6 separate regions of the Homo sapiens genome follow, and all the other regions are linked to region 1. The links are contacts of gene promoters, found by promoter capture Hi-C in blood cells and fetal thymus (Javierre and others, 2016). All regions are on one chromosome and are shown on one strand. The core of a region is centred on a gene start or on the middle of the fragment in contact, and the rest is flanking DNA. Distances in the headings are between cores, read along the strand shown. Region 1 holds the start of MFF (mitochondrial fission factor). Region 2 has its middle 19 kb from the start of CCL20. Region 3 has its middle 28 kb from the start of SCYGR8. Region 4 has its middle 14 kb from the start of SCYGR4. Region 5 has its middle 3.3 kb from the start of SCYGR3. Region 6 has its middle 12 kb from the start of SCYGR2.

Region 1 (4,190 bases), core at 996-3,495:
TTTAACACTGTATTATCCCAATTATTGGGTTTTCTGCTTAAAACCAATCAAAATCTGATTTTTTTTCTCCCTCGTTAGACTGTGGCATTTCTGATAATATCTTTTGGCAATAAATAAACGTCTCATTTGGTGTTGATATGTTAATTCCAGAAGTTTTGTACCTTAGAATCCAGTAGGCAACCAGTACGTGATTCTGTTACATAACAAACGAGGCAAAATCTCTCTTAGAATCACAGATGATTTCATATTTCTACTTTCTAAGCCCAGTGGTTCCCAAACACCAGTAACTAACTTGCCAACTTCATGGGTTTTTTTTTTCCCATATTCACAGAGTACATTAACTTTTTGCTACAGTTAATTTTTTTAACTCGACTTTTTAAAATCAAAAAAGTATTGTAAAAGAAAATTTTGTATCACTACCTTAAACCATGGCTGTACATATATAAATACAGATTGCAAAAACATCCTATTACAAAAAAATCCTCATCCACGTACCGCCTAGAGTCAAGTCACATGCCACTAGCGGAAAGTGTACCAATTTTGGGACACAATGATTCCAGCCCAACTTTCTCATTTTCTGTATTAGAACACTGGAACCCAGAAAGCCTCGGAAGTCACCGAAACAACTTGAGTCAAACTGACTGTGGTTGCAAATGTTTATGTACTTTTCAAAAACAAACATACAAACAAACAAAAACAAACCAAAAAAAACCCTCCAGTTGTTTATTACCTACTGCGTGGACCTAGTTCACACAGATGGGCCACTCTGCACACCCTGTTTCAGTTCTTTTTCAAAGAAACTATATTTAAAAAGTCACTGCAAACTTTTAAAACTATATATTAATGAACTTTAAAATAAGGTTATGAACCCACAGAAAAGTTTCAATACCAGAAGAGAGGAGAGCGAAGACTAAACTTTGCAATTCTGAAAGGAGGCAGCTCTATCAGACAGGAAGGGAGAGAACACAATTTCCTTTTGGAAAAAATGGCAAAACCAATATACAAGCCTTTGAAACCAAAAGATAGAAGGTCCCCCAAGCAATTTAATTGCATGGGAAAAGACTACTAAGTATAACTAAATCGTCCTAATTTTCCTAAGGGTTTTTCTTTTGGGCTCTCATTAGCCAACGGAATTGAGGCAGAAAAAATGTTTTTCACGCAGGGAGACAAAACATTTGTGATCATCTTAAGTCTCTCGGTGGATGAGAGGCCTGAATACAAATGGTTCTATATTTGGGCAGAAGGGCCAGAAACCTTTTTTTTTTTTTTCCCCTTTAATGTTCTCCAATGAAAACATGTCACTTTTGAAAGGGTGCTCTTCCCTCGAGAATGCCCTTTGCTTCTAACTTTGTGGGAGGTAGACAGGGGTGTTCTTTTACGATAGTAATAGTAGCACACGTCCTGCAGAGGAAGGTCAGAAGCTCGGCGGAACAGGAACCGCAGCTTTCCTCCGGCTTCCCAGCTCCTGGAAGGAAACCCGAGAGCAACTGCCTGCAGCCACATCTGCGAGCAGGGATGCTCACAGACGGACAGGGTGGCCCGCAGCCACCCGCGATGCCACAACCTGGGCTTCCAACAAGGCCCTTCTTTTCCAAAATGTACTTGCCACAAAACAACACAAAAACCTCCTTTTAAACAAGGCAGGTTTAAGGTCAGCCTGTAAGGTGTCAGGGCCTTGGCAGGGAAGGATGAGTGAAGACCTGCAAAGCCCGGCGTTCACGCTCACGGGACTCCCGCTGCTTCCCAAACCCCTATTTTCCAGTCGGAAAAGTCCGGGTTAATACACAAAAGGAGACGCCGAACCACACAAGGTGAAGAGGTTCGCCCAAAAACACCTGCAGAAGACGCTCCTCTCCCTCGCTCTCCTCGGGGACTCAAGGTCCCGGGGAGGAGGAAAGACCAGGGTTGAAGGCAAGAGGCCCGGGGACGGGACTCGGGTCAGGGAGACACTACCGGGGGGGCCGGGGCCACCGCGGGTCCCTGTTGGCCGGAGGGTCTCGGCGGCGGCGATAGGCCTGGCAGCCAGCTCGGGCGGCAGGTCGCGGGTCGGGAAGACGTCAACACTCACCCCTGGGCCCACAGGAGGGTCCCGGCGAGGACCCCCGCCCTCTGGCTCCCGGGGCGCTCGAGTGGGCGCTCTCAGAGGTGGTTGGCTGAGAGCACGGAGGCGCCCAGGGACAGCACCGGCGGAGCGGCCCGCAGAGGGCCAGGGCAGAAGCGCGAAAGGCGCGGGCTGGCCCCTTCTGGGAGCCGTAGCGGAAGAGTGTTCGTGGTCATGTGACGCGGAAAAGGGCGGACGCGTGGCCCACGCACTGGAACGGCTCCACGGTAAGCGATGCGCAGACATCTTTGTTGTGGGCGAAACGAGGTGACCGCAGGTGACTCCTCTTGCGGTTAAGTTTAATTCACACTTCGGCTTTATTAGATTTTGTAATCTTTAAGAACTTGGTGTTTGCAAGGTAAACCTTTGGTAGCCAATTAAAACAACTTTTTCAGGACCATCTGGCATGAAAATTTCTATGCTGTGAGGCTTAGGAATTCTCATATGTAAATCAGCTCCGCCAGTGATTCCATGAGTTCCAATTTGATACTTCTTAAGCCCTCGGTTGATCAGACCTTGTCTTCCATGAGAATTCCGGGAGAGGGGAAGTTAAGTTTCACAGTAGTTGGCGGCATCGTTTAGCTTTGGGAGAGCACTCTCTGCTTCTGAACACCCAACCACAGACTCTTCCCCCCAGGAAGCCCTTGCTTAGAGCGGGGGAAAAATGGTACAGTGCTTGTCAGTATGGGAATGTACTGAGGCCAAATAATGTGATATTTTATATGCCTTGGTTTTCACAAACACCTAAAGGTGTACACATGACTTATGTACTCCCCTACGATCTAATTGATATTCTAGAGATGTTACCATTCTTCAAAATGATTTGGGAAGCCCTCTGAATTGCGTTCTTGGGCTTCTTAACACTGGTGTAGGGAAAGTGAAAATATTTCCTCTCCCCTCTTGGGGTCTTGGCTGGGCCTAAGAATTAAACTGATGAGGAAAAGAGTCAAACTCTAAAATATTTGAAGAGATTTATTCTGAGCCAAATGTGAGTGACCATGGCCCGTGACAGAGCCCTCAGGAGGTCCTGAGAACATGTGTCCAAGGTGGTTGGGGCGCAGCTTGGTTTTATGTATTTTAGGGAGGCATGAGACATCAATCAAATAAATTTAAGAACTACATTGGTTTGGTTCAGAAAGGTGGGACAACTCAAAGCAGGGGCTTCCAAGGCTGTAGGTAAATTTAAACATTTTCTGGTTGACAGTTGAAGACCTGGGACCCATAGAAAGGAAATGTTGAGGTTAAAATAAAAGATTGTGGAGACCAAGGTTCTTTTGAAGTCTTATAGTGGCTGCCCTTAGAGACAATGGATGACAAATGTTTCCTATTCAGATCTTTAAAAGGTGCTAGATTCTTACGTAATCTCTTTAGGATTGGGAGGACCTGGAAGAAAATGATCTAGCTATGTTAATAGAAATTCTATGTAGATGCAGATTTTCCCCCAACAAAGGACAGCTTTGCAGAGCCGTTTCAAGATATGTCAAAAACTAAAAAAAATGTTTTGCGGTAAAATATTTTGATTTTGTTTCTTGTCTCGTTATGCCAGTGTCAGATTGGAAAGTAAGTCACAATATATAGGGTTAAATAAAACCCATCTGATGAGAATTTATGGATTGTAGGGCATGAATCCCTAGGCCCCTTAGATAGGAATTTGAGCAAGATTAAAAAAAAAATCAGAGCTTAGTCTCCACTGACGTAAAATAGAGACATAAAACATAACAGGAGGAAAGCATACAAATTTTATTTAGTAATTTTTACATTTACATTGGAGCCTTCCCTAGAAAAATGGAGACCCAAATTAACAGTTGGACCCTAAGTGCTTTTGAGTCTCCATTTTTCTAGGGAAGGCTAAAAAGAGTAGTAAATTGTGAAAATGTGAGAAAACAAACAGATTTGGGTTAGTGCAGTTAATGCAGAAGTGACTAAGAAGATAAAGGTTGTTGTAACAAAGTGGAAATGAAAATCGGTAAGTTTGTGCAGATACAGCTCAGCTTTGACTCCATGTCTCTGGTGTTGAGAACATCTCCCTTCCTCCTTATACAGGGAGGGCACCTTTCATACGGAAGTTTTATCTCCTGCTTTCAGGAAG
Region 2 (4,190 bases), core at 1,148-3,647, 470 kb before region 1:
ATCCCAGCACTTTGGGAGGCCAAGGCAGGCAGATCACCTGAGATCAGGAGTTTGAGACCAGCGTGGCCAACATGGTGAAACACCGTCTCTACTAAAAATGCAAAAATTAGCCTGGTGTGGTGGTGTGCGCCTGGAATCCCAGCTACTAGGGAGGCTGAGGCAGGAGAATCCTTGAACTTGGGAGGCAGAGGTTGCAGTGAACCAAGATTGCACCATTGCACTTCAGCCTAGCTGACAGAGTGAGACTCCGTCTCAAAAAAAGAGAGAGATTGCAAAACAACCTTCCAGAACTCTCTGATCGAGTAAACCCATTTCCCTGCACCTTTCACAAAGATCAGATAGAGATGAATTTACTTAGGATATTATGGAAGCAACTACATCTTCTTCTCATAAATATGAGTCTAAAATGTGACAAGAGCCTCAGCGCTATCGGCTATTGTGATTATGTCCTCACCTCTACTTCACTAACCACAAGGGACTTTTTATTTTTTCCTGGCACAAAGAACACATGCCGTTGTAAAGTGAGTATGCCACACCCTGAGCTCTTAAAGTAAATATTTTGCCAGGGAAATCGAAGAACTGGAAGAAGAGAACCAATGGAAATGGGGAGGGCAGTCCCTACCACTCCCGTACTTTCCAAAGGAGCCTCTGGGTGCCGAGCATATTTACTTAATAGATCAAAGGTTTTTAATATGTATGACAGTTGTGGTGCTGATGATGAAATATTGGTAGCTCTCTATCGTAAATCTGAAAATTCCCCTGCATGTGTCTCACAATTGATATGAAGAAGGCAGCTATAGTAATCATCGGACTACGCAGAGAACAATTTACTAAGGAATGCTGATCAGTTAAGGCACAAACTGGAGACCGAGGCCTGCGTTCCTTCATAGCACGTAGCTTCAGGTTAGAGCCAAGAATTTCCAAGTGGTCGTTATGAATGGCGTTAACTAATAGGCTAGCATGTTGACATATTCCAAGTTCTAAGGTGTGATGTGTAAATACTCCAGTTTTATGTGGGTTTAAGTCTTTTACAGTTCTATAGAAAAAGGTCCAGCTGCCCATTTGTATATGGCTCCAGAGTTATTCCAGGAAAATCTAAGCCTAACCATTTGTTTAAGACAATGTATATTTACTATGAACATAATCAGAAATGCGTGCAAAAATTACATACAGAACTATTCACTGCATCATAATTAAAATAGGAAAGGAAACAAAAAATACACAAATAGTAAGAGAATAGTGATTAAAATCATTGTTGGATATCCACAAAGTTCAATATTATAGTATGTTGCCATTTAGTAATCTGAGAAGCATTTTATGCAAGGGATAAACGCTAATGACATAATGACAGACTAGCAGGACACAAAATCGTAAATGGTGTGTTAACTCATTATGGGAAGTTGTATATTTCCCATAATTGTGTATTTCCCATATTTATGCGTTTTAAAAAAAAACTAGAAGGAAATTCTCCAGAATGAAAATAGAAATGATCTCTGGTAGTGGGAGGCGTTCCCCTTTGGTTTTCACATTTTTTCTATATTTATCAATTTTTTAATTTTTAAATTTAATTTAATTGTATTTTATTTTTGAGACAGGGTCTTGCTCTATCACCCAGGTTAGAATGCAGTGGAACAATCACAGCTCACTACAGTCTCAAATGCCTGGGCTCAAAAGCTTCCTCCGGCCTCAGCCTCCTGAGTAGCTGGGACTACAAGCACATGCCACTGCACCTGGATATTTACCCTTTTTTAAAAAAAAGCAATAAACACATGTTACTTATAATCAGAACAGAACAAACTATTTTCAAGACCACATGTGAAACAAACTACGGTTCCTGGTATATGAAGCAAAATAAACTTAGAAATATAGCCGGGCACCATGGCTCATGCCTGTAATCCCAGCACTTTGGAAGCCTGAGGAGGGTGGATCACTTCAGGTCAGGAGTTCAAGACCAGCCCAGCCAACATGGTGAAACCCTGTCTCTACTAATAATATAAAAAGTTAGCTGGGGGTGGTGGTGGGTGCCTGTAATCCTAGCTACTGGGGAGGCTGAGGCACGAGAATTGCTTGAACCTGGGAGACAGAGGTTGTAGTGAGACAAGATCATGCCACTGCACTCCAGCCTGGGCAGCAGAGTGAGAGTCTGTCTCAAAAAAAAAAAAAAGGAAAGAAAAAGAAAGAAAGAAATGTAACGTTAGGCTGGGCTTGGTGGCTCACGCCTGTAATCCCAGCACTTTGGGAGGCCGAGGTAGCCAGATGGCTTGAGCCAAGGAGTTTAAGACCAACCTGGCCAACATGGCAAGACTCTATCTCTACAAAAACGCAAAAATAACAACCAGGCATGGTGGCACATGCTGTTAGTCCCGACAACTCAGGAGGCTGAGGTAGGAAGATGGCTTGAGCCTGGGAGGCAGAGGTTGCAGTGAGCCAAGATCATGCCACTGCACTCCAGGATTCCAACATGGGCAACAGAGTGAGAACCTGTCTCAAAGAAAATAAGAAAAAGAAACAAGAAATATAATTTTACAGAGTTACTTTTATTTATAGCTTTAATACTTTATAGTAAAAATTGCCACGAAGAGAAAGAAAGACCTTATTTCTTTTTTTTTTTTAGACAGAGTCTGTTGCTGCCCAGGCTGGAATGCAATGGGGCGATCTCAGCTCAATGCAACCTCTGCCTCCCGGGTTCAAGCAATTCTCCTGCCTCAGCCTCCTGAGTAGCTGTGATTACAAGCATGCGCCACCACGCCTGGCTAATTTTGTATTTTTAGTAGAGATGGGGTTTCTCCATGGTGGTCAGGCTGGTCTCGAACTCCTGACCTCAGGTGATCCGCCCACCTTGGCCTCCCAAAGTGCTGGGATTACAGGCATGAGCCACCGTGCCTGGCCAAGAAAGACATTATTTCTTAGAATACTTCATACCAGTCTCTCATGAAAATATTACAGTGAGCCTTACAAAATTTTCACTGCCCTCCTAACTTTGCAGATGGCCCTAGAAGAAACATAACTCTGCCAGGAAGACATCAATAATATATTATACCTTGTATTGGGATTTACAGGATAAAATAGATGAAAGCTAATTGGAAACAATTTACATGGCAAGTAAACTTTTAAGCTTTTAGAGAATTTAACTGTGAAGTTATTTTATGTTAGAAAAATATGTCCATAAAACAGTTTGAGAAACACAAATTACTTCATCTCATGAAAGCTAAAGAATCACTAATTAACCATACCAATAACTCACTGTGTTGGTTGGGCAAGTTCTTGCGTTCTCTGGGTCTTAGTATCTCCATTAGATAATTAGAAGTATGCAATTAGTTACTTCCTGGACTCTTTTTGGGAAGTAATATTATATGATTCAATGCTATAAAAATAACATTGGAAAGTAATATCGTATGATTCAATATTATAAAAGAATTCTTTTACAGATCTTACTAATTAGCAGCTTCATTTCCACTCAGTAAGAAGAAATGACTATAACCTCTTACAGTATTCTAGCCTGATGATTTTAATCAGTTTATAACAACAGTTTAACCAGTGGTTTTATAAACATTTTATTGCCTTTCATCATGGTCTGACCGTAAACAATCATCCACTTTGAACCTTGTTCTGTTTCATGATTGCGTTACATCATGCCATCTTAGTCAGCCTTTCTTCTCACAGCAGAAGCTAGGCAAACCCTAAGCTATCATGTCACTTCCAGCTACATACATTACCATTTATGGCCCATTTCTTTAGGGCTTACAGGTGCCCATTAGGAGTGAACCCAACCCTAGAAGCAGATGAGCAACTGGAATGCTCCATCATGACTGCCAGCCCAGGCCAAAAGGCACCAATCTGCTTGGAGTCTCTACGGCACATCAGAAAGAGTAAATGAATCATTGGCTTGATGCGAAAGATGTTTCAACTGTTGTAGAACTAGGTAGGGTGACGTAGTAGCTAACCAGGGAATGACACTAATAAGCCCAAAGCTTTGGATCCATTACTGAGTTGACTTACTGATTTGCCTCTGTCGTGCGGATCTTTCCAAGCTGGCCACATGTAAGGGAGCTTGAGTGAGTGATGGTAGATGAATAAGAATAAAATGTGATTTCAACTGGCACAAAAATCAGTATAATATCTCCAGAAAAAGTCTGAAATTTTTTGAAAGCCAACCAATAGGATACACCTTCCATGATGACTGAGTATAA
Region 3 (4,190 bases), core at 1,175-3,674, 450 kb before region 1:
ACACACACCCCTTACAACTTCAATTATATGCTACTGTAAACATTATATAATCCCATCTGCATTTTACCAGACTTATCTTAAAGGTCAAACCACCCCCTAGCAACCTAAAACCTACAGGCAGAAACCATGAACTTATAGTGACATATTCTTGTACCTTTTTCTTTTTAAGCAAATGGATCATTTGAAGTGATACAAAGTAAAGAACAACAAGCAGAAAATGAATCATGTGGATTGAGACTGCACCTGTCAGCACATAGAGAGGAATGAAAAGTTGAAGCCAAATGTGTAAATGTCAGCATTTGTCTTTTCATTAAAAGAAAGACCTTTACTGTTAGCATCACTTTTCACACCAGTTTTCAAAATGTGGGTGAGAATATTTTCCAGTTCATATCAGAGCAGGCAAAACACCGCAACACTAAAGATAAAATGTTAACATCAAGATTTCCTGGAAATCAGTATTGATGGCATTCACACAGCTTTGCCAGACCATTAGAAATGTTAAGAACTTAGAAAACTCCTGTAATGCTGGGTGGAATCAAAATGAAAGGTTGTCAATCAATGAGAGACGAAGATGAGAGGCCCAGTGTGCTTTTCATGATTAACGGAAATTCTGATAGATAATACCAGGACTTTGGTTTTTAAAATTAAGAAATGGAAAACAGCAAACTCGTTGTCATTTCCTCTTCTGTATTCTTTGTCTGTTTTAAAACTGGCTTACCTAGATTTGAAAGAGTCTTCCTACCAGCAATTTAAATGTAGAAAAGTCTACTACAAAAAAAATGACCTACTTAGAATTTGGTGATATTTTAATAGAAACTGCAGAGGCCATCTCCACAACCATTTGAGTATCAGATGATGAAATGGGGCCGCAGATTTGTTGAATGACTTTTCCAGGGTGAGTTATCTAGTGAGTTGTTGGGATTCACTCAGGATGGTGGCAGAAATATTAAAAGGAAATATTACGGAAAGTTATAGGGAATAGTCACAAACCTCTTTGGAAGGCCGAAAGGTTACATAGCTTGTAATAATTGAAGAGGCTGAAGGCAGCCAGTTCTTACCTTAGAGAATTAGAATACTAGGGACAGTAGAGGCTTCCCCAATAAGTCTGTTTACCCTACCTCCGTTAACCAACTGTTGAGCCAGATGGCCCTCTCGCGGGGAGGTGGACCAGAAATACTGCCCCCTAATGGTATTTACTTTAAAACGCGGTACCTGAGCTTTAATCATTTGTAGAACTACTCTCTTAACCATGTTAATTATCCACAAGACTCAGAGCTTCTGTTGTTAATTGTATAGTAAACAAATGCCTGGAGGGCGAGCTGCTCCGGACCGGCCGGAGTGACAAACCTCTCTTGGTGTGTAGGGGTTCAGACACTCAGCAGGACTGGCAAAACAGAATATCTGTGTGTCAGTGTACATTTTATCCATCCGTCGTTTGGGTCAGGGTCTGTGGGCAGACCCCCGTAGCTAATGCCCTCTTGTGAGGAGCAATACCTCAGTGCGTGGAGAATCAGGACCCCAATCCAGGTCTTCTCACGATCTTCATGTAACCCACAAACTCTGTTTTGCTTATATCGCTTTGGATGAAAAAGGCAAAATGTTAGAATATGGAAAAATGGTATAGTAATTCACTATTATTTTCAAAGAAGAGGCATTCATAAATACAGGAAGATGGCCAAAGGAGAAACTGGAGATAATAGTTATCTGTCACTGAAAAATTAACTCTTCACTTATTATGTTATAAGCTGTTTATTTTGTCCTATTTGGTACAGAGAAAGAAGGAGCCAAGCTTTCAAAGCAAGATTGCATTTATATTAGAACCCAAGATCTTCTTCCCCTTAGCAACACTTCTCTCCCTGTATCTTTAGTATTATAGGTGAACTAAGTATGCAGAGAGTAAATATTTCATAATCTTAACACTTAGGCCGGGCGTGGTGGCTCACGCCCGTAATCCCAGCACTTTGGGAGACCAAGGCGGGTGGATCACGAGGTCAGGAGATTGAGACCATCCTGGCTAACACGGTGAAACCCCGACTCTACTAAAAATACAAAAAAATTAGCCGGACATGGTGGTGGGCTCCTGTGGTCCCAGCTACTCGGGACGCTGAGGCAGGAGAATGGCGTGAACCCGGGAGGCGGAGCTTGTAGTGAGCCGAGATCACGCCACTGCACTCGAGCCTGGGTGACAAAGCGAGACTCCGTCTCAAAAAAAAAAAAAAAAAAAAGACACTTGCTGCCAGAAATACTCAGAGAGGGAACTATTTTCATAAGAAAAAAAAAGTCATAATAAGTGGTTAAGATCACCATGAGCAAGGACAGGGAAACAAAAGAGAATGCTGAAGTGCTTTGCATTATAAAGCAACAGAAACTTGGGTATGATGAGAGAGGAGGGGAAGGAGAAACTGGTGACCATATAAATGCATACAAGCTAGGTGTGTCCCTGACACTCAGAACCCTTGGGGAAGAAAGACAGTGGGCCTAGTAGAGCCCCACTTAGCACACTGAGTGACAGCCTAAGGCACAAAGCAATCCCAGCATACACTGTATACACATTCATTATGGCCTGTGGTAAGTGAAAGATGGTTCCACGTTTGGCCAGTGGGGAGAATTGTGTGGTTTACACCAGCAGTCCTCAACCTTTTTGGCACCAGGGACTGGTTTTTTGGAAGATGATTTTTCCACGGACCAGTGAGGGTTCAGTGGGGGATGATTTCAGGATGACTCAAGTGCATTACATTTATTATGAACTTTATTTCTGTTATTATTACATTGTAATATAATGAAATAATTATACAACTCACCATATTGTAGAATCACTGGAAGCCCTCAGCTTGTTTTTCTGCAATTAGATAGTTTCACCTGGGGGTGATGGGAGACAGTGACAGATCACTGGGCATTAGATTCTCATAAGGAGCGCGCAACCCAGATCCTTACATGAGCAGTTCACAATAGGGTTTGTGCTCTTATGAGACTCTAATGCTGCAGCTGATCTGACAAGAGGCAGAGCTCAGGCGGTAATGTGAGCAATAGGGAGTTGTGGTAAATACAGATGAAGCTTCACTCACTCAACTGCTGCTCACCTCCTGCTGTGTGGCCTGGTTCCCAGCAGGCCACAGACTGGTACTGTTCCACAGCCCGGGGATTGGGGACCCCTGGTTTACACGACTTGGCCAGGTGACTGATAAGTACAAACTTCATCACACAATATGACCTGGCCCCTTTGTCACATGGAACAAGGAGCAAGTAAATATGACTCCTGCAGTTTCAAATTCCCTCTCTTCCTTTGTGTTCTGGTTTTGTTTGTTTGCTTTGCACTTTGAGTGTTATTGTGATTCTGGAGATCTCAAGGAGAAAACTGCCTAGAGAAGGGTCTCAATAGGCCGGGTGTGATGGCTCGTGCCTGTAATCCCAGCCCTTTGGGAGGCTGAGTCTGGTGGATCATGAGGTCAGGAGTTCAAGACCCACCTGACCAACATGGTGAAACCTCATCTCTACTAAAAAAAAAAAAAGAGAGAGAGAGAGAAGTCCTCAGTAATGACCCAGAAGGCCTTCACCAAGTAGTGGAGAAACTTTTTTTTTTTTTTGAGACAGACTTTCACTCTTGTTGCCCAGTCTGGAGTGCAATGGGGCAATCTCATCTCACTGCCACCTCTGCCTCCCGGGTTCAAGCAATTCTCCTGCCTCAGCCTCCCAAGTAGCTGGCATTACAGGTGGGCACCACCACACCTGGCTAATTTTGTATTTTTAGTAGAGACGAGGTTTCACCATGTTGGTCAGGCTAGTCTCGAACTCCTGACCTCAGGTGATCCACCTGCCTTGGCCTCCCAAAATGCTGGGATTACAGATGTGAGCCACTGCGCCTGGCTAGTGGAGAAACTTCTAAGAGTAGACTTAACTTATAAGAATGTCGGCCTGGGAGAAAAAGGAGGAAAGCTACAGATAACCTGACAAAATCCTTCACTTCATAATGAAGAACCAGAGGCTGAAGACAGCAAGTATTTGGCCTCAGAGAAGTTAGCTGGTTAGCATTTGAGCAGATCTCCTACGATTCATGCCACTGCTGAAGAAAACTAGATTTACCCATTTTAAAACATGCCTCCGCCTGCATGAGGCCATCGACCACATTCTCCAGGGCATTAACTGTTTCCAGCAAGGAGGAGGTAAAATACTCCTCCAGAACCCAGCAGTCT
Region 4 (4,190 bases), core at 948-3,447, 310 kb before region 1:
TTTTGAAACAGAGTCTCCCTCTGTCTCCCAGGCTGGAGTGCAGTGACACGATCTCAGCTCACTGCAGCCTTTGTCTCCCAGGTTCAAGCGATTCTCCTGCCTTAGCCTTCTGAGTAGCTGGGACTACAGGCATGTGCCACCACACCCAGCCAATTTTTGTATTTTTTGGTAGAGACAGGGTTTCACCATGTTGACCAAGCTGGTTTCAAACTCCTGACCTCAAGTGATCTGCCTGCCTCAGCCTCCCAAAGTGCTGGGATTACAGGCCTGAGCCACAGTGACCGGCCTGATACATCTGATTTTAAAAGTGACTTGCTAAGCCATATTTATCTCAAATAATGTTGAATGTTTTCTAGTTGCAGAGTATTTTGAAAATTTGGTTTAATTTTAGAATTGTTTAACTAGTTTTAAATTCTTAGCGTACTATATCCCATCCCACGGAATGTTAAAATACATTGCACCATCCCATTTGTCTATTTCTTCAGTCTATCTCTGCTAAAAGAGCTTTCAGAAAGAAACTGTCAATAGAAACCTGGGCTTCCTCAGCAGACCAAAGCCTTGAGAAGAACACAATTCGCTGTTTTGTATTTGAATGCGCATGTGTGTGTCCTTTTAAAACTCTTTCCATTTGTACAATGACAGATTTCAGATTGGAGTTAATCTGAGCATGGAAGACTATGCCCTGACGTTTGGAATTAATCCCTTCATTGCCTTGATGATTCAACCCATCGTGACGATGACTGTGGTTGACAACCAAGGACTGGGGCTTCCTGTTGACATTCAGGTAAGTGCATGGGCCACTGTGCTCTCATGGACAAAGAGGCATGTTTTCAAAACTATATATCTATATCTATTTATCTTTATACTTTTAAAAATCAGAGTTATTGATAAATAATATACGTGCAGTAAGTTCACACTTTGTATGTACAGTTCTATGAATTAGGGCAAATGTACAGCTGTGTGACTACCACCACAATGAAGATAAACATCAACCCAAACAGTGCTCTTGTGTTTCTCTGCCACCAATCCCCTCTCCCCACCCCTCGTCCCTGGCAACAACTGATTGGTTTTCTATCCATACAGTTTGTCATTATAGAATGCCATATCAATGGAATTATTTTTTATATAGCCTTTTATTTCTAGTTTCTTTCCTTTAGCATGATGTCTTCAATAGAATAATTTTATACTGAGAAATAGAAATATGGTGTAGTTAAGGTTCTATTTCTTAAGAAACCTTTTCATTAAACAGGTGACCTTTTCACTAAAGAGGTGAAGGAATGAAAGAACTGCATAAAATTAAAGCCATAAAGTCATTCCAGTGGAAGTGGTTCTCATTAGCTACAGCTAAAGGTTTTTCCTTGCCCTAGCTAAAGTTCAATCTTATTAAAGCTTAGTTCCCAAATTCTGTAAATCTACTCTGTCTCATGGACAAAATCGTCATTCTTACCTCTCTATAAATAGATGAGAATTCCTACAAAATATTTAGAAGCTATCTTGTTTAAAAGCAAAAAGGCAAAAAGAAATCATTTCAGAATACAAAATTAAATGAAGTAATGCCAGGACATTTTTTAAAAATCTACTTTGTAGTCGCACTTGTTCAACAGAGGAAAGGATTGCTTCCATTTAATAAATCTTAACACTAAGATTCATGTAGATTCAGTACTACACACTTGTTCAATATAATATGCTTGTTTGAGGCTATTCGACGTGTAAGCATTACTTTCTAAAATAAAATGTAAATTCCTAATTTACTATCTGGTTGGCAAATTGCTCTTCAGTTTTTCAGAAATTATTCTGTGTATCATCTGTTAGCGAGAGAACAAGCTTGAAATCAGCAAAATCTGGTTTTGAATCTTGATGTTTATAGTGACATGTTAAAATTTTTTCATTTTGGAAAACTTCAAATACATACAACATTTTGAAAAAATAGTATAATGAAACAAACTTTAACAAATATCAATTTGTGGCCAATCTTGTTTCATCTGTACTCCACTCCCAATGAAATTTCTCACCCCTGCTTCTAAATTATTTTAAAGTAAACCCTAAAGATGTAATATGTTCTTAATGTCTCAATTTTCTTATGAGTAAAATGGAGAATATAAGACTTACTGCATGAGTTCTTACACAGGTTAAGTGCTGGCCTCTAAACCACACTATTCCTGGCCTTTAGTGTTGTCAATAAACAAACATCTCTCTCTCTTTTCCTAATTGAAAAAAATAACATCTATTTACATTAATCAACATGGTTAGGAGGCACTTACCTTTTCTAAAGACTTTTACATTAATCAGCTCCAGATATTTCCCTTACTTTTCGACAAATCCATTATATCCTAAGTTGAAATGAATGAATTCCTATAACTGAATTAGGTAAAATAGGACTAGAAATAAAAACGAGCCATTAATCCTTCTATTCTCCTTTCTGCCACTATTTTGTGTAACCTAATTTAAAATTTCAGTGTCTTCTTTGTTGGCAGATCAACACCTTTTGCTCTTTCTTCAAAAGGCAGGGGGTCACACAGGCATGAAAAGCTGAAAACAAATCTAAAATTTGGCAGAAAAATTCAAGCTTTACCTTTTGTATCCCCTGATACTTCAATGTTTCCGAATCCTTTTACCTTCTTGACCAAGAGGAATAGATTTAAGTCACTCCTTTAAAATCTTTGTATTGCTACCGTATCTTCTCTGCTAGTCTCTGCTGACATCCTCAATGCTGGAACAACTTTCAATTCGGTTCTTCCATGGAAAGCTATTTTAAAGTTTAATTGCTAAAGAAGAGACCAGTTTACCCAGGTACAGAGCAGGATGAGCAAAAACATACAGCTCAAAGGCATAACAGAAGACAAACCCTATTCCTATATACAAAGAAAAAAAGGTGTTATTATGAATGGCTGGTCTTGAAAACTGTGCTTCTTAAAAATTGATTTTTGGTAGGAATCTAATTAAATATGCTTTCATTAAGTTTTTAAGAGCCAGTAATATGGAAGTGCATTGATTAGTAACTCCCAAATCTCAATCATAAATGTCCATTCATCATTGACTCTGTCTGCACTCATGATATTCCACTAATAGGATGCCAAATGCCATTTTTAAAAATTGGAATCTAAAAAGTAGAAAATACAAACTGAATCAGGATTTTTCTCTGACACAGAGATTCAGCAAAGAGTAGGATGCATCGAGACTTCCAGAAGCGATTCCTTCATTTTCCCAGCATCTCTCAAACTGCTGTCACAACATAAGCTATTTATGGAGTTTCAAAGGTCTTAATGGATTTATGAAGATCTTAAAAAGGGGCTTCAAGACACATCTTTGAAGATGACTGAAAGATTAGGGGAAGAGGCCCATGAGGAAAGCTAAAAGAAGCATTTTTATCTCAACTAGAAAAAGCTGAAGAGTAATTTAGTAATAATCACCAAGCCGGTTATGGAGAGAGTGGTAGATATAATTGTCTTTACTGAAGGCACAAGACTGTACTGTGGTTGACTAATGATATAAAATGATTTTCTGGCAGAATCTTGTTTCCAAAAATAGATGAAATTCACAAGTTTGAATATAAGAGGGATTTGGAGGGGGTGGGTAAATAACCATACAACATCTCAAATAAGGTTAATTTTTTAAAATAAGCCTTTAATTAGGTAAATGAAGTAATAACACCCCACAAGTTTTGCACCAGAACACCCACCTCTTGGTTACCTGTTACCAGACCTCTTCATCCCTCTCATCGCCCCCCACTTCCCCACTTTCACCCCCCAATTTGCAGCGATAACTTTTGGAATGAGAAACAGACTGAGTAAGTGCCCATTTCTTCTTGATCAAGGGAGTTGACAGTAAGACTCCTCCGTCATTCACTAATTTCTTTGCCTTCACCCTCCTCCTCCCTGGATGGTCTTGAGGCTTAAGACATGAAAAGCAACTCTTATCACCAAGTTTGGGGAGTACACACAAAAAAGAAAAGGGAAAGTCCAGTGGCGCCAAGTGCCCCTTTGATATCACAGAAACCGCAGCTGCTGTGCTCCTCTGCCTTCATTTTCCTCACTGGGAAATAACGCAGTGACCCTGCCCAGTGCTCACAGCCAGCAGCCGTTGCACTCAGCCACTCTGGGACCAGCTGATGGCCTCTGATTGCACCCTCCATTAGATTAACCAGCTAGGATAACTGGTACTTTAATCTACCTTTAATTAAATAAAAGTTA
Region 5 (4,190 bases), core at 610-3,109, 290 kb before region 1:
TTGTGGCTAGTTTAGCAGCAAAGTGAGAAGGAAACAAGGCAGAGAGCGGGGAATCCCAGCTTGGGTGAGCAGTGGGGCGGGGGCTGAGGGAAGCCAAGCTCCTTGGGTGTGTCTCCCGGAGAAGCTGGTTCTTGCACCAGCCCCACGAGGACCACTTAGGGTGTGTCCTTGTTACTCTAAGCACAGTTTGGCTCTGGACAGAAGCTTAAACAGGTTGAACTGACCAAATGAATGTTATAACCAAAGGGAACATGAGTCAAATAACCATGTCAAATAAGATTTCCAAAGAGGGGAAGATGCTGTCACAGAAAGACAGTTTTCCTTCCACCTTGAAATTCAGAAGAGAGGGTTTGGAGGCAGGTGCGAGATGAGCCCTCTGAAGTCTAAGTTGACAAGGTGGTTTTGGGCACTCATCTGGCTCTGTCTCTATTCCCTTTCCAGCTCCAACAGCCCTGAGCCTCTAATACCCTCAGGCTACCCAAAGGCCCTTACTTACTCTCAGCCTTTAGGAATTACCTCTGGGGCTCCACCCTCTCACTCATTCTTCCCTCCCAGGCTTCACCTGTAGAACTGCCCCCTCCCTTGTGATGGTTCTCAGCTGGAAGAGCGGGGTCAGGAGAGAAGTGCCAGTTCATCCATCTTACGCTAAGGCAAGTGGCATCCGCTTTTCCCCACTGAGGGAGGACCCCTCAAGTCGCTTTTCCCAGTAATGTTGACCAACCTAATGGGCAGAATTCTGGGACATGTGGTTTTTCCAGCCACCAAGACCCAACACTTCTTAGGCACTTGCTCCTCCTGTCCCACTCGCTGAAAATGTGAGTTTGTTTCCAGTCAGCGTAAATAGAAGATGTGGCTGTCTGCCAGGATTTGCTGGGTCTCAATACTCATGTTGACATAGATTTGTGAAAAAAGAACCCAGGTGGCCTGGTATGGGGTTTGTGTTGTGTGTGTATATATGTACATATATTATGAGATAGTCAGATGGTCTGTCAGGCGCGGCCACAAGAAGAGGCAAAGGCGGCTGGGCACGGTGGCTCATGCTTGTAATCGTAGCACTTTGTGAGGCCGAGGTGGTTGGATCACCTGAGGTCAGTAGTTCAAGACCAGCCTGACCAATATGGTGAAACCCCAACTCTACTAAAAATATATATACAAAAATTAGCTGGGCACAGTGGCATGTGCCTGTAGTCCCAACTACTCGGGAAGCTGAGACAGAGAATTACTTGAACCCGTGAGGTGGAGGTTGCAGTGAGCCAAGATCGTGCCACTGGGCAACAGAGTGAGACTTTATCTCAAAAATTAAATAAATAAATAAATAAAAAGAAGAGACAAAGGATAGGTTCAGGAAAACAGTGTATTCCCATCACAGGTCCTAAAGAGATGGAGTCACTGCATGCCAAGAGGGGGTCACATGGGAGGCAGCACCGGGGGAGTGGTCTCAGCCAGGCAGACAGGGAGAAAGGACCCATAGGCTTGCTCACGGGTGTCAGGGTGGAATATATGAGCAAGAGGTGCAGGGGTGTCCATCAGTGCATCTGAATGTTACTGGGTCTCAGTCAGGGGAGGACAGGGAGGTGAACCTGTGGCAGGGGCTAAACATACCACGCTGGGGCTCACCTGGGAGAGATGCGCAAAACTTACAATGCAGTGCACTGGGGGCACCTGTCTGCATCTCACCCCCGCAGAGGAGTGGCTGTAGGTACCTCCCTGTAATCCAATTGTGAGTTGGAGTCTTGCTTTAGGCTGTCTGAATAATTAGCACAAATGTAGTCAACTATCCCCTACTGTAGGGGAATTTATAGGCAGGGCTTATAGGGATTTGCAAAGCAAGTGAGAATACTAGCAGATTGAAAAATGAAAACAATTTGTTGGGCACAATCGAACTACAGAAATATCTTCTTTAAATTCTGACTATCTTTTTTTCTTTTTTCAGTATTAAGTCCATCTGAGAAACTAGAGCCTTGGGACCCAGGGATGAGGAAACTTACCGTACAGACATGCGGGCTGACCTTCATTCACCCTGCGGGCCATGGCCTCTGCCATCCAACTGCAGAGGCTTCAGCCGAAACTCTCTCCAGCACTGCCCTAAACAGACCAAGTGTGAGGGAGGGAGCATGTAATGAAAAGTCCACAGAGAACAAGAAGCCACAAGATTCGGTGCTCTGGAGCCATTCTAGATGGTTTCAGGGGAACTAGCTTCCCACCTCTGACAGGGATACCATGGCAAATACCACTCTTTGCCTAGGATTATAATTCTTTGTGCACAATGCATCCCATCCCAAAGACAGTCCACAGCAGGACTTGCTCCATCTCTGAACTGGTCTTACCCCCTTAAACCTGCCTTTATATCTAGGAGTTTCTTTATTTTATTTTATTTTTTTGAGACAGAGTCTCGCTCCATTGCCCAGGCTGGACTGCAGCGGCGTGATCTCAGCTCACTGCAACCTCCACCTCCTGGGTTCAAGTGATTCTTGTGCCTCAGCCTCCCAAGTAGCTGGGATTAAAGGCACGTGCCACCATGACTGGCCAATTTTTATATTTTTAGTAGAGATGAGGTTTCACCATGTTGGCCAGGCTGGTCTCAAACTCTTGACTTCAAGTGATCCGCCCGCCTCAGCCTCCCAAAGTGCTGGGATTACAGGTGTGAGCCACCAGGCCCAGCCTATATCTAGGAGTCTCTTGATGAGCATTGGTCGACAGAAAGAAGTCTCTTCTAAAAATTGTTAATGCTTTTATAGACTACTCATAGTCTGAGTCATAAAACATCATTTGCCTTTCAATTTATACCTTCCAAGTGAATATGATTATTGAGGATTATCTAATTATTATCTACGTTTCTCTCTAGATATAAAAAACACCATAGATCCTATACACACAAAAATGGTTTTTCTATCAGAAATGGACTCACTCGCCTGGCAAAAGGACACAGATTAGATTATTCTAATCTCAAGGCCCCTTAGGCTTATGAATTCAAAAAAAAAAATAGAAGAAATGAACAAAAACTTAAATCACAGTTTGTTATTAAGTAATATCTGAAATGAATTAGAAAGAAACCATAAGCCTTAACAATACTCCAATCACAGTTAAATTAATTTAGACAGAAAAGCAAATAGCAATTGACTTGAAAATAAGAAGTGGAGCCGAAGGTGGATACAAGAAATCCAGGAGGGCTAAGATAAATCCCAAATCCAATGTTCATCAATGCCTACACATTCAGTACAACCTGATGGCATTAATTCTGTGGTTGGGGAAATGTGAAAGTGAAATCGATAATACCACAGTTCTAAATGTGCACTGTTGGCTGAACTTATGGTGTGGTGGGGGGTGGTAAAAATTAGGCTTCTAAGAAAGGATGGGACTCTGCCCTCCAGGCAAGGAGTAAATGGCCCCAGCAGATGGAAAACTAAAGCAAATGTAATCACCTGCATTTTGAAAATAGGTGTGTTTCTGAGAATTTGTTTGAATTAGTTCTTTGTAAATAAAACAGGATTTTGAATGCATTCAGGAAGCTTGTCTTTTTTTTTTTTTTTTTTTTTTTTTTTACAGAGTCTCGCTCTGTGGCCCAGGCTGGAGTGCAGTAGCACAATCTCGGCTCACTACAACCTCTGTCTCCAGAGTTCAAGCGATTCTCCTGCCTCAGCCTCCTGAGTAGCTGGGATTACAGGTGTGCGCCACCACGCCCGGCTAATTTTTTTGTATTTTTAGTAGAGATGGGGTTTTGCCATGTTGGCCAGGCTGGTCTTGAACTCCCAACCTCAGGTGATCTGCCCGCCTCGACCTCCCAAAGTGCTAGGATTACAGATGTGAGCCACTGCGCCTGGCCCAGCTTGTCTATTTTTAAAGGAACCTCACATCTCAAAATTGAATACGAACTGTAGAGAGAAGCTGGACATTCAAGTATTCTGTTTGGTAACTAGAGGGCACAAACAACAGAGGCAGGAAGCTACTCTCAGGGTCTTTAACTTGCTCCACGATCACTGCGCATCCACCAAAGGCTTTCTAAGAGAGATTAAGATTTTCTAGAATGTGAGATATGTTCAAACCAAAAAAAAAATGCAAAGATAAACTTTTAATAATATATTTTTATTTTATTAGGAAATTTAGAAAGTAGCTATTGACAAATAGGAATACAAGATAGAAAAGGAGCAGAGAAAAGCACACTAATGGAAATGAAATGATCATATACATCA
Region 6 (4,190 bases), core at 977-3,476, 260 kb before region 1:
TTTTGTCAAATGTATTTTGGGGGCAGCTGTCAAGTTAAATCAAAACAAGAAAAGTTTGTACATCTCTTAGTGTTTTTAATAGAATTGCAATGAATTTATTAATTTATTTGGAAAGGATTGACATCTTTTAGATGTCAGTTGAGATGTTCCATCCACAAACCTCTATTTCTTTCTTCTTTTATGTCCCTCAGTAGAATTTAAAAATTTTTTCCATCAAGATCCTGCATGTCATTGGAGTCATATATCATACTTTAATTTTATTTTTGTTGCTATTTCAAATGGATTCTCTAAATCCTTGTTTTGAGTAAACCCATTCAAAAAGTAATTTTTTAACTACATTTTCTATTTGATATGAAATCTCTTTATGTTGAATATTGATTTTTGAGACTCCCTTTTCCTCCAGGACTTCCTATTACCTTTAATATATTAATGTGAATTTCCCAAATGGAAACAATATGCAACATTTCCTGGGCTTCTTTGATGACAAAACTCATTTTAATAAAGACTCTATATACCTAATGTGTTGGGGTTTTTATAAAGGGTGATTAAGGATAATACACATAAAATGTATATACTTAGAGTAAAAGACAGATACATTTTGAAGAGGACTCTTTCCTCTGGGCAGCTATTACTGATTTGCGAAAGACGAGGAACGGCTGGATCTCTTTGGCTTAGACCATTGACTACTATCAAAATAATTTTACCCTCAGGTAGACAGATTGAAACAATGCAGTGTTTTCTGAAAAAAATGTCAGTTCTGATTCCGTTTTTGAAATAGAAGTGAATTTATCTAAAATTGAAATAAAAAATCAAGTTGTGTACACCCCTGAGGAAGTAATAAACAGGAAACAAAAGTTTGCCACGGAAAGTGGCCAAAACAACAAGGAAGTGACTATAGTCATGTGCCAAGCCCCAGCAGCAGTATTTAAGGGTCCCTTGCAGAGGCAAACATCAGACCTCGTCACCTCTCACATCCTCCCTCCTCACTTCACCTGAGTCCTCTCTACTGACACCATGGGTTGCTGTGGTTGTGGAAGTTGTGGCTGCAGTGGTGGCTGAGGTGGTGGCTGCGGTGGTGGCTGCGGTGGTGGCTGTGGCAGCTGCACCACCTGCAGGTGCTACCGGGTGGGCTGCTGCTCCAGCTGCTGCCCCTGCTGCCGCGGCTGCTGTGGAGGCTGCTGCAGCACTCCCGTGATCTGCTGCTGCCGCCGTACCTGCAGCTCGTGTGGCTGCGGCTGTGGGAAGGGCTGTTGCCAACAGAAATCCTGCTGCCAAAAGCAATGCTGCTGCTAGGCAGGGCACCTGACTCTGGAAGAGTTTGCTGCATCTTGCTTGCCCATTGCAAGCCTTCCCCCAACCTCGCCCTGGTTCTCTTTCCATCACTGGGAGTCACACATGTGACTGGGAGTCACACAAGGGCTGTAGATTTGATACCCTCCTCTCTGTCACATCACAAATCTATAATTTCAAAATATTGAGTGATATTCATGTGAACAATGAAAACTATGAAAGCAAGGGACAGCCCAGCTCCTGCAAACAATTCACGGTTGAAGAAATGGAAAATGAAATCATAGTTACTAACTTTTATGTTTTTCTGAAATTCCTTAACACAAACTTCAGTGCCTGCCTTCTTTTCACTGTGCTGTAAACTACATGCTATTTCTACTCTATTCTCATATCCAGCAGTTCTGTACTGCTAAAAACTAAATGCACAGAATAATGTACCATATATTGATGGCTAACCATCTCTTTTACTTATTGTCTTGCTATAAAAGGACCTTTTGTGCTGTATAAATTCACGCAAGTTAAATAAAGGAACCCTGTTGGGAAGAATTTCCTCTACTGTGAGATTCATTTCTTTTATGATCAAACTTGTGCTAAAATGCATTATGGGCTCAATATCCAGGGCAGAAATACTTCGCATGTGGAGCAGGTCTCAGGGAAGCCTTATTTACCCAATTTCAATTTCCCTGTCTCACTGTTTGTGACAGTCATTTCTTTGGAGTCAATGTTAATGTAATTTACTCCCAAATTGCCTACATCTCACTTCCACTCATTGGGTCAGGTCAAAGGAGCATGAACCCAATTTGGGTTGCTGACATGCCAAAAGAATAGCAGGTGCTTTACCCCAAATCAGCCTAACCCATCCCTGAAAATGATAACCTTAAAACAAATGTAATACATTTTCAAATCTGCCTTAAATCTTTCCTTTTCTAATCCCAATTAGAAGTATATGACCTTAGGGCTGGGCACAATGGCTCACGCCTATAATCCCAAAACTTTGGGAGGCCGAGGTGGGTGAATCACCTGAAGTCAGGAGTTTGAGACCAGCCCGGCCAACATGGTGAAATCACATCTCTACTAAAAATAGAAAAATTAGGTGGGCATGGTGGCAGGTGCCTGTAATCCCAGCTACTCAGGAGGATTGCTTGAACCTAGGAGCTGGAGGTTGCAGTAAGCCAAGATCGCACCACTGCCCTCCAGCCTGGGTGACAGAGCAAAATTCCGACTCAAAAAAAATAAAAATAAAAAAAAGGAAGTATATGACCTTGGATACAAAATACTTATCACAGAGAAGGATTTTCAGAAGAGGCCACAACCAGGTCAGGCCAGCAGATATCTGCCTCATGCAGAATTGGCTCTGTGCTGGGATGGGTTGAGACGTATTGGGAGCAGATGTGCATGCAGGTACTGACAAAGTCTAATGAGCCCAGGTTAGGCCCACCCTGAAGAAGTAGAGGTTTCAATCTCTTTGTTTTTACTCTAGCATTAATCTTAGAAATGGTGATAATGGCTTAATTTTATATTTGCCAGTTTCTAAGAGCAATTCTTCACCTCATTCCCATGAGGAGAACAAAGCAAAAGTACAAAATGGACCTAAGATGTTGATCAAGGATCCACCGTACTATTTACATGCATTCACGTGCAAGGGCATGAAGATTTTTTAAAGTCTCTCTGCAACATGCAAATAAAAACTGAAATTACACTTAGCCAATCCAAACTAAGAATATAATATAAGTACCTGATTGTTCATGACCCAGGAAGTTGCTCCTCATGTGTAACTAACAGAATATAAGTTAAACAGAGGCCTGGCACAGTGGCTCATGCCTATAATCCCAGCACTTTGGGAGCAGAGGCGGGTGGATCACTTGAACTCAAAAGTTCAAGACTAGCCTGGGCAACATGGTGAAACCCCATCTCTACTAAAAGTATAAAAATTAGCCAGGCTTGGTGGCGCACACCTGTAATCCTAGCTACTTGGATGTCTGAGGCAGGAGAGTCGCTTGAACCCGGGGAGGTGAGGTTGCAGTGAGTTGAGAACATGCCACTGCACTCCAGCCTAGGTGACACAGTGAGACCCTGTCTCAAAAAAAGAAAAATAAATAGTAAGTTAGAAAAATTAAACAGAAAGAAAACATCTACATAACTGAAGAATTCAATGGCAACACCTAGTAGACTTAGAAATTGGAAAGAATTAATCTACACTGATTTTGTGATATATCCTACATTTTAATAACTTAATCATTTACCTTTAGACAGGAGAATTTCTAAAAAATTCAGGATAAAGGGTGCCTGTTCTCTTTAGAAGGAGTCCAGGTACAGAAAATCCATGCCCTCTATTGCTAGCCCATTTCAATGTACTATTATCCTCCACTTAAAAGTCTTCCATACACATGATTGAAATCTTCCCTGCTTTTGTGTTTCCTCTTGTCCTCTGTAGACCAAAGAACAACATCTAAAGATCTGCTCAACAAAACCCTTTATAGACCTGGGACAGTCTGGTGTTTTTAACAACCAGATCTCGTGTGAACTCATTACTGTAGGGAAGGCACCAAGCCATTCATGAGGGATCCGCCTCCATGATCCAAACACGTTGCACTAGGCCCCCCTCCAACACTGGAGGTCACACTTCAACATGAGATTTGGAGGGAACAAATACGCAAACCATATCATTCTGCCCTTTGCCTCCTAAATCTCATGTCCTTCTCACAATGCAAAATACAGTCATCCCTTCCCAAGAGTCCCCAAAAGTGTTAACTCATTCTAGCAACAGTTCAGAATTCCAAAGTCTCATTTGAGACTTAAGGCAAGTTCCTTCCTCCTATGAGCTTGTAAGACCAAAATCAAATTATTTACTTTCAAGACATAATAGTGGTACAGGCATTGGGTAAATATCCCCATTCCAAAAG

The links. The method cuts DNA at HindIII sites, captures the fragments that hold promoters and counts their contacts. A CHiCAGO score of 5 or more calls a contact.
Region 2: a fragment that was not itself captured here is called in contact with the fragment with the promoter of MFF in region 1 in 1 of 17 cell types (activated CD4 T cells); the score reaches 5.4 in activated CD4 T cells.
Region 3: a fragment that was not itself captured here is called in contact with the fragment with the promoter of MFF in region 1 in 1 of 17 cell types (activated CD4 T cells); the score reaches 5.2 in activated CD4 T cells.
Region 4: a contact is called between a fragment that was not itself captured here and the fragment with the promoter of MFF in region 1, in 1 of 17 cell types (activated CD4 T cells). The highest score is 6.2, in activated CD4 T cells.
Region 5: a fragment that was not itself captured here is called in contact with the fragment with the promoter of MFF in region 1 in 2 of 17 cell types (monocytes and activated CD4 T cells); the score reaches 5.9 in monocytes.
Region 6: a contact is called between a fragment that was not itself captured here and the fragment with the promoter of MFF in region 1, in 1 of 17 cell types (activated CD4 T cells). The highest score is 5.2, in activated CD4 T cells.

Annotation. Positions count from the first base shown.
Region 1 is chr2:227,323,306-227,327,495 of GRCh38, reverse strand. It overlaps MFF (mitochondrial fission factor), which reads right to left and starts at 2,245. Exons shown (of 9, transcript NM_001277062.2): 1 at 2,069-2,245. MFF-DT (MFF divergent transcript) reads left to right here and starts at 2,332. Exons shown (of 14, transcript NR_102371.1): 1 at 2,332-2,378. RefSeq lists a silencer at 1,904-2,193 and an enhancer at 2,374-2,423. The HindIII fragment of the contact is 6,653 bases long and covers 1-4,190 here.
Region 2 is chr2:227,792,965-227,797,154 of GRCh38, reverse strand. No RefSeq gene overlaps it. Among named protein-coding and RNA genes, the nearest start is that of CCL20, 19 kb to the left of the region's middle. The HindIII fragment of the contact is 1,441 bases long and covers 1,677-3,117 here.
Region 3 is chr2:227,771,445-227,775,634 of GRCh38, reverse strand. No RefSeq gene overlaps it. Among named protein-coding and RNA genes, the nearest start is that of SCYGR8, 28 kb to the right of the region's middle. The HindIII fragment of the contact is 1,266 bases long and covers 1,792-3,057 here.
Region 4 is chr2:227,629,563-227,633,752 of GRCh38, reverse strand. It overlaps the pseudogene SLC19A4P. Among named protein-coding and RNA genes, the nearest start is that of SCYGR4, 14 kb to the right of the region's middle. The HindIII fragment of the contact is 742 bases long and covers 1,827-2,568 here.
Region 5 is chr2:227,609,400-227,613,589 of GRCh38, reverse strand. It overlaps the pseudogene SLC19A4P. Among named protein-coding and RNA genes, the nearest start is that of SCYGR3, 3.3 kb to the left of the region's middle. The HindIII fragment of the contact is 3,305 bases long and covers 207-3,511 here.
Region 6 is chr2:227,584,340-227,588,529 of GRCh38, reverse strand. It overlaps the pseudogene SCYGR9. Among named protein-coding and RNA genes, the nearest start is that of SCYGR2, 12 kb to the left of the region's middle. RefSeq lists an enhancer at 1,126-1,627. The HindIII fragment of the contact is 5,155 bases long and covers 1-4,190 here.